2 separate regions of the Homo sapiens genome follow, and region 2 is linked to region 1. Evidence: promoter capture Hi-C in human tissues and cell types (Jung and others, 2019). All regions are on one chromosome and are shown on one strand. Each heading gives the region's core, a stretch centred on a gene start or on the middle of the fragment in contact. The rest is flanking DNA. Distances are from core to core; before and after follow the strand shown. Region 1 holds the start of ANKRD16 (ankyrin repeat domain 16). Region 2 has its middle 13 kb from the start of SFMBT2.

The links. The method cuts DNA at HindIII sites, captures the fragments that hold promoters and counts their contacts. A contact is called where the count stands out against the background at its distance.
Region 2: a fragment that was not itself captured here is called in contact with the fragment with the promoter of ANKRD16 in region 1 in 1 of the 25 tissues and cell types used here (dorsolateral prefrontal cortex).

The regions. Positions count from the first base shown.
Region 1 is chr10:5,888,249-5,892,688 of GRCh38, reverse strand. ANKRD16 (ankyrin repeat domain 16) reads left to right here and starts at 2,796. Exons shown (of 8, transcript NM_019046.3): 1 at 2,796-3,648. The coding sequence starts at 3,335. FBH1 (F-box DNA helicase 1) reads right to left here and starts at 2,446. Exons shown (of 21, transcript NM_178150.3): 1 at 2,343-2,446. The coding sequence starts at 2,343. RefSeq lists silencers at 2,014-2,063, 2,254-2,973, 3,114-3,223, 3,234-3,513. The HindIII fragment of the contact is 15,491 bases long and covers 1-4,440 here.
Region 2 is chr10:7,421,494-7,425,875 of GRCh38, reverse strand. No RefSeq gene overlaps it. Among named protein-coding and RNA genes, the nearest start is that of SFMBT2, 13 kb to the right of the region's middle. The HindIII fragment of the contact is 5,034 bases long and covers 1-4,382 here.

The sequences.
Region 1 (4,440 bases), core at 1,547-4,046:
TCCCCCGGAGTGAGAGGGAGGCTGAAAGTCCTAGTTTTAAAAATAATTTCTGGCTTTAAGTTATCTGTGGAATACCATGTTTATGCTCCAGGAGGTCCTCTGAAATCTGAGACTGGTCTTCAAAAGGCATGTGAATGACAGTTACAGATATAAGATTTGAGATGCTTTCTAAAAGTAGGTAATTTCACAGCCAGAAAGGCAAAGATGGAATCCAAATTCAGTTTCCAAATAAAATCAGCCTAGGAGGGATAGAGGAATGAGATAAGCAGCAAAAAGATGATGTCAACAAACCCAAAATTAGAATTCTAAATCTAATACCAATAGTGGTGTCTACACACACTCACAAATCACGAAACCTGTCAAATGATCAGTGTACCAATGGGCATGCTCAACAGCATACCCATGAAAAACAGGAGGAAAAGGAAGGGCAGCCAAGGAGCAAGTCGGTGCCAATGACGACTACATGTGACGTGACTGTAAAGGCCAGACCACAACCTCCAAAAGTCTGCACGAAAGAAATGAGCAGCCCAACCGGAAAACAGCAAGACCCAGGAAACAGCTCCATCCATTAGCTTACTGTTCAGATCCCGCCCCTCTAGACCAAGCTTTTGCCCAGAAAATCACAGGAGCTGCGGGACAGATTCACATACATTATCATTTAGTTATCCAAAGGGGGATACAGAGCAAAGAAGGTTCATAGAGAAGACACAAGAGGCAGAATCGAATGTGCAACACCAATGAAGTAACCAATTATCCTGGGTTCAAATATTCCAACCTGGCTAGGCACGGTGGCTCACGCCTGTAATCCCAGCATTTGGGAGGCCGAGCTGGGTGAATTACTTGAGGCCAGGAGTTTAAAGACCAGCCTGGCCAACATGGTGAAACCCCGTCTCTACTAAAAATACAAAAAAATTAGCCGAGCATGGTGGCACACGCCTGTAATCCCAGCTACTCGGGAGGCTGAGGCAGGAGAATTGCTTGAACCCGGGAGGGGGAGGTTGCAGTGAGCCGAGATCGTGCCACTGCACTCCACCCGGAGCAACAGAGCGAGACTCTGTCTCAAAATATATATATATATTCCAACCTACTGTGAACCCGTGTGTCCCAATTATGTTTAAAAAACAGGGAAACTAGAGACATAATGCAAGAGAAGATAGTCATCTGAAACTGGGAGAGGGGCAGGGGTAAAAGCAAAAAGCATGAAGCTACCAGATGCCTCAACTTCCAATTTGCACTAACTTCAACGGCAGCAGAACACTGCTTGGCACGCCCTACACTTTTGTGCATTTCAAACAACTTTTATGCCTTCCTTTTTTTCTTTTGCTGGAGTGACAAGGCACGACAGAACAATAACCTGAGCAAAGCTGGTACTTGGACTAGTTCTGTCTCCAGAGGCTATCCACATCACTGTTACCTTAACCAAACTCAATCTGCTCATGAGTAAAACGGACTTATCTTCATGGGCCCATTCCAGAAGTCTTTTCATTTATCTCCGCTCATTTTACCACAGCGGCAGACGCTGGCGGACACTCAACACATGCTACCATCCTGCCTTCCAGAAGACTTTATTACCTGTAATTCTGTAAGAAAGTCACTGACTTGGTTAGGCCTCCACTTCCCCACCTGTAAAACCCTACTGATGCCTCATAGGGTTGTCTTCGGACCACAGACTGCAATAAAAAATGTAAACGGCACTCGTTTTTAGGCCTGGCAAATAGGAGCTACTCCCATTCTACTCCCTAAAGGAATCGAAAACATGGAGAGGTTAAGTGACTGGCACCTAATCAGATCGGGTAAGGAACCCAACACCTACTGATCTCTTCCATCACCCACAGCCTGCCCAGCTCTCGCCGTGCCCTCCACCAGCGCCAGGCCTCCCACATCGCCTTAGGCTTCCCATGCTCAGAGGAGGGGCAGAGAAGCTACCGATGACACAGGGGCAGAGGGCAGCGAAAAATGACTTGCCCAAGGTCAAAACGTCAGAGTAGACGGGAAAGCCTGGCCTCCTAGCAGCCGAGGCCACGTCCCCGCGCTTGCCCCTTCAGCCCCGAGGACCCACACGCTGCGCCTTCCTGGCCTCGGGGGGCAGCGCGGGGGCCGCTCCCGACCGAGTTCAGTGAGCGCCCTGGCCTCCCCCGCGCACCCCCGCCGCGCCCTCCACCTGCCCACGGCCCGGACGGCCGAGCCCCCACGCCCGCGCTTGCCCGAGCCCAGCCTCGCGCCCCCGGGGCCCCCGCTGCCCCACCCCGGGCCCGGACCCCCCGCGCAGGACCCCGGAGGTTAAGTTTTCCACACGGCGGAGCCCCTCCCACACTCCCTGCCACGTCTGCGGCCTCACGCACTGTGGCGCTCCGGACCCGGACCCCGCTGCCGCCGCCGCCGGGCCCGCGCCGCCGGCCGCTCAGCCCAGCGTCCCCCGGCAGCGAGCTCCTCCTCTGGCCGGGACCTGGAGCCCGAGACGCCCGCCGACTTCCTCCGCGAGCTCCGCCCCGCCGCAGCCCCGGGAAGCGCCCGCCGCCGGAGCCGGACTGACGGCCCCCGCGACCAATCGGGACGCGAGACCGGAGGGGGCGTGCTGACGGACGGCCACTAACGCCAATCGAAATGCGCAATCGGTGGGGGCGCGGCCACAGCTACCGGGCCACGCCCCATCCGCGCTTCCGCTCGGGCCGGGGCGGAGCGGGAAACTTTCCCAGAGTTCCTTCGAGCTCCCCGAGTCCCCGCGGAGCAGCGGCGGTCGAGGGGCGGGGACGGGGGCGGAGCCCAGGAACGCCGGCCCCCAGGGGCTGGAGGCTGGGGCGGCCCTGAGGACGCGTGCGGGGCAGGTCACGCTTGGGCCTGGCTGCCTCAGGAGCCACCCTGCACGGCGCCGGGCGAGGCTGTGCGCGCCCTCCCGGACCCTCCACTTTGGGGCTTTGCGGTGTAGCGGCGCGCCCCACTCCCTTACGTGTTCAGTCCCGAATCACGTACGGGCCGCTGCAGCTCCAGGACGGCGGACGCCAGCGCTCTCGGATCCCCAGGCCCCTCCGTGCTCATCCCGGACCGCTCCGTCCCTGAGGAAAAACCGCCCCGTGCCCGGAACCGCGGCTTCTCCCACGCGGGGCAGGCCGGGGCTGTGAGGGGGCAGCCCGCCTGCGGACTAGGCCGGGGGTTTGAGGAGGCGGCTCTGCCGGGGACAAAGCCGGGGGCGTGAGGGGCGGTTCTGCCGGGTTCGGGGCGCGCGGGGCAGGTTGCGTGAAGAGGCGGAAAGTCCCACTCGCCCTCGGCTTCTCCCTGCCCGGCCGCCGGTGTCCCGCCCGCCGCCTCCCCGCGCAGCCCGGCCCGACCCGCGGCGATGGCCCAGCCCGGGGACCCGCGGCGCCTCTGCAGGCTGGTGCAGGAGGGCCGGCTGCGCGCCCTGAAGGAGGAGCTGCAGGCGGCCGGGGGCTGCCCGGGGCCGGCCGGGGATACCCTCCTGCACTGCGCCGCGCGCCACGGGCATCGGGACGTGCTGGCCTATCTGGCCGAGGCCTGGGGCATGGACATCGAGGCCACCAACCGAGACTACAAGCGGCCTCTGCACGAGGCGGCCTCCATGGGCCACCGAGACTGCGTGCGCTACCTGCTGGGCCGGGGGGCAGCGGTCGACTGCCTGAAGAAGGCCGACTGGTAGGTGTGGAGCGGAAAGACACCCCGCCTCCCCTCTACTCGCAGAGTCGTAGCGAGTTCCCTGTGCTTCTCCGTCCCCTTGGACACCGTAGCTGTTCTCAGCTCCTAGTTCTCACCCCAGGCCTGCTCAGCGGCAGGGACCTCCTGCCCAACTTTCCCTTATAACGCAGATGACCTGCAGAGTCCCTCGTTCCTGCCCTTGTGGGTTAACTGGTCGGGGCAGTCACCTCCCTTTCTAGAGCACGGAATAGTGTAGAATATAACCAAAGAGAATGTTACCAAACAATGAAGTGTGTGCACTATACAGATAGCCTCCGGATGCGATGTTCTGGGGACATTTAGCTAAGTTACTTCTGCACCAATGCATTGTTTCAAGTGGCATTGCTCCAATCAATATCCAGAATTCCTGAGTTATACACGCGCTCGTGTGTGTAGAGCACAGTGCAGTTGTATCACATACGTGCAGCCTTGCATAACCACCACAGTCAGAGATACTCTGCTCCACCATCACACAAGCCAATTGCATTTCGTTTGTTAGATTGACACTGATTTTAGTACTCACTAGGTCAGGTTCGTTAGAGGGCGTGAACATCTTTAGGAACATAGGGAAGTACATCTTCCCCACTGGGGCAGGGGAATAGACTTCGTTATGTGTTGAGGGTTGTCTGTGGGTTTTCTTAGCTCTGCTCCAATTCACTGCTATCCTGTGAACTAGCTTATAAGCTGCTTTGTCTCCCAGGCACCCTCTCCTCTAGGTACACGTTCGTTACAATCATTTTCCCCTTATTATTT
Region 2 (4,382 bases), core at 973-3,472, 1.5 Mb before region 1:
TCACATTTTACTAATCTATGTAGTAGTCATCTTTAGTGTAGTCAATGCTCCTGTTTCTCTCTACTTACAATGACCTATAAAATAAGAGTAGGAACATGGCTTACATTTCAACCATCTTGAGATGTAGATCAAGCTACTTACATCTGAGTTGGATGGGAAGCTGGTTTCTTGCTATTTACGTTGGTCAGTTTTTCATTTAGGATCTTGCTTTTACTGAACGGGGCAACAAGTGAAAGTTGAGTGTCTCCTGCTGCTGAGCTCTGGTCTTCCAATAGAGCAGAGTTACTGGGAAGGTTTGAGCTGACATCCAGCAGTGACCCTTAACTCCTGGAGGTTCCTGCATGTGTCAGTCCTAATGGAATTCACTGGGTTTTTAAAGGATCCACTCTCTACAAGTGCGGGTTTATAAATGTGGGATTATAATCAGAGGACTATTAAGGTAACTAATGAGGCAAGGCTTGGATCATGCCTGCAATCTACTTGGAAATCTATTTTTAAAAAATTTGAGAGCAAAAAGTCCTTCAAAACACTTTTTTTTTCTTTTTTTGGAAGCATAGAAAGTCAAGGGAAAAAGGAAGACAATTTGCAACTCTGGCCTCAAATCCTTTTTGGAACCATGGCAAGGATCAAACAAATGAGGTTGTTTTTTCATAAGGCAAAGTGTTTCACTGCAAGACATCTCTCCGTTTCTCCCATGCTTATGTACAAGAGCCTTCCTAAACCACAATGCACACCCTCGCCTCTCACTCAAGTGTTCTGAAGGCGTGTTGCACTTGAATATGTTCCTGCTTTGTGTACAAATGCAGATTATATGAAATCTATCATTAATGCAAAACATTCATGTCAGCCTTATTCAGAGATAGGCTTTGTGTTTGTGATACTTCTTTCCTCTTTTATTCAACAAATATTTACTAAGTATCTACTGTGAGCCAGATCATGTTCTATGGGTTGGGGATACAGCTAGAAATAAGATAGAGTCCCTACTCTCACGGTACTATTGTAGTGGGAGAGACAGAACTCATAAGGAAAAAGCAACGTGATACTGGTGATGATAAGTATCAGTCAGAAAAATAGAGCAGGGTATAGGGCCCTGGGGGATGAAGTGTTTGCAAATATAGGGTGATCGGAGAAGCTGAAACCTGAAGGGGATAGAGGAACAAGCAAGCCAGCATCTTGAGCAAGAGTATCCCAGGGACAGAAGGCAGTAGATGCAAGGGTTCTGAGAAAGGAGCACAGTCTGCCTGTGCAAGGAACAGCATTAGACCTCGACTGGAGTCGCCCCAGCAGCGCCAGGGCGCAAGTTTACTAGACAAAGCAGCTGGAGGGGAAGCGGGTAGCAGAAGCAAACAGGCCGTGCCGAGGACTTCAGCTCCACCTCCCGTCGGGTGGGAAACCACTGCAGCGTCTTGAGCCAGGACTAGTGTGATCTGACTCACTTTTTGAGAGCTCACCCTCTTGCCTCTGTGTCGTGAACCAAGGGTAGGATGTGAGAGTAGACTCAGGGAGCCCAGTGAGGATGTGCCTGCCATGAGCTCATCCGAGTCTGGGGGTGCTTGGTGACTTGGTTTAGAGCGGAGCAGTGCTCAAAAGGTAAAAACTCAAAAATTCAGTGCGTGTTTGGAGGTGGAGCCCAAAGCACTCAGCAGCATCTGTTGAATAGGGCACCACCATCTGTTTACCGAAACAAGACTAGAATGCAGTAGAATTGTCAGAAATTATTACTAAAGTATAGTTGTCACTGGTGTGGCAGTTTATAAATATATTGGTCAATAAAAAAAAGAAAAGATAGTTGTCTTTAGTGACTGATAATAAAAGAATATGGTATAACATACTGTGAAGAAATACCAGAGCAGAAAACTGGGATGGAGTGGGCCACTGACCGTATTGGGGTTTACCCCCTCAATTCAGCAATATTAAGAATATTGAGCACAGTTCACATTGGGATGGCTCGTTGAAGCTGGCAAAGCTGCAGAGTTGGCCATGAGAACGACTTTGAGATCTTTCCTTCTACCCCCAGGGTTCTCCAGTTTGAGAGTCTCCAGGCAAGCCCCAGCATCCCCCGGATTCTTATGTCACTAAAATTAAGTCGATGAAAATAGCCTTCTTATTCAAAGCATCTGCAGCTCACCCCTGCAGCTTCCCCCCAGCAGGATGTCTCCTCCTGTCCCAGAATGACAAAACTCAAAGTAAATAAACCCAGGAGTGCAAACAATGGATATGTGGAGCACGTCAGTCACTCGGAAGCTGCATAAACAACCTTTGCTTTCAAAAAACAAAATCTTCATTGTCCCTTTTGGTCCAAGAAGCTCAGAACGTAATGGAACTGTAATGACTTTCATACCATCTTTCCAGAAATGTGCACATGATACTATCACTCTCATTTACAGAAAGGGAGAGAAGGAGACGTATCACCACGTAGTTTACCTTCAGGTCAATGCCAAAGCCAGGATCTAATTCTGCAAACATTCGTGGAGCTCATTCTATGTACCAATGACTATGGTCTATCAGACTCAGGTTCTAATTTTCAGACATGTATTTTTTCACTACTAAAAAATTGCTAAACATTTTTTCTTAGTTGGCAAAAGGAATGAAGAAAAAAACACCTGGTATTTTTTTAAACTGGAAAATATTGGCTCATTCAACATGGTTTATACTATTTAGAGGCAAGAGAAAAAGAGATGGAGATATTTCTGTCTCAAATAATTTCCTGGCTTTCCAAATTTTCCTTTCTTCATCCTCCTGCTCCCCCTCCTCCTTTTCTTCTGCTTCTTCTCCTTCTCCTCCTTTTCTTTAGATGCTAAAGGCATGCCAACAAAAGACTCAGGAGAAATGCCAGCCATACCTTAAAGTTCTGTAGCTCTGTACTTCCTAAGAGCTCAAAGCAGTTGGAAACAAGAGAACACATACAAAAGCAAATGGTGTCTAGCACGATGATTGGAATAAAGCAGTAATAAGTCGCAATGACCCCGATGATAGCATTGTCTTACAACATGCCCCAGGTAGGAAGGCACCAAGGTAACCATCATTATCAGTGTCACTTTTCCTGAGGACTATCTTTGACAAAAATAGATTAAGTTGTTTGTCCAAATTCACATGAATCAAGATTCAATTTGAGTCTTGAGACTTTTGCTAGTCTCTTCCATTTCTGAATTCCAGGTTAGCCTGTTCCTATGGGCTAGAATTGGAAACTTATTTTATTATTAAAGGGAGTGTAAAAAAATGTTTTTTAGCACCCAACTCAATGCTCTGCTCTGGTCACTGGGCATATTGCAACCTTCTAATTCCTCTCAATCCCATAAAGTAAGAGGTTATTTCTTTTCTTTTCTTTTTTTAAGATGGAGTCTCACTCTGTCGCCCAGGCTGGAGTATAGTGGCGTGATCTCGGCTCGCTGCAACCTCCGTCTCCCGGGTTCATGCAATTCTCCTGCCTCAGCCTCCTGAGTAGCTGGGATCACAGGTGCAAGCCACCATGCCTGGGTAATTTTTGTACTTTTAGTAGAGACGGGGTCTTATTATGCTGGCCAGGCTGGTCTTGAACTCCTGACCTAGTGATCTGCCTGCTTCGGCCTCCCAAAGTGTTGGGATTACAGGTGTGAGCCACCATGCCCAGCCAGTAAGAGATAATTATGTCCATTTCACAGATGGCCAATCTGAGGTTCAGATAAATTCATTGACTTGCAAATAATCTATTTAGGGGCACCATGGGATTTGAATCCAGGTCTCTTCATTCTTTATTCTTTTGTTCACTACTCTGGTCTGCAGTATTATTCTATAACTACTCATTTCATAGGAATTTCTTTTTAAGAGATGGAGGTCTTGCTGTGTCACCCAGGCCTAGTGCAGTGGCACAATCACAGCTCACTGAAGCCTCGAACTCTGAGGCTCAAGTGATCCTCCTGCCTCAGCCTCCCAGGTAGCTGGGATTACAGATGCAAGCCACCATGCCTGGCTTCGTGTAAATTTATAACAATTTGTTTAGGAATATGCTCTCACTCCCATTGTCTGCTTTTCAAATTGGTCAGTAAAATTAGCTATCCTTTCAGGGTTTGACAAAGATTAAGTTTCATGAAAGTAATAAAGCATTGGTATATGTGAAGGCTTTGTTTTCAATGAGTACAATATGACTCAAGGCCTTTTAATATCTTATGAATCAGCTGCTAGCTACATTCTTGTTTGGAATATTTTATTTGCATTGTCAGGAAGATGTAACTATTGACTAATAAAACAAAGAAAATAGAAAAAGCCAGAAGGGAAGGCTGAAAGAGCAATTACAGAGGGTGCAAGTCCATGGAAATGTAGAAAACAAATCTGGGATATGATCTGATTTATAATCAATATAGAATTATTGGCCGCATATTGAAGAGTACTATAAGCTTATACTA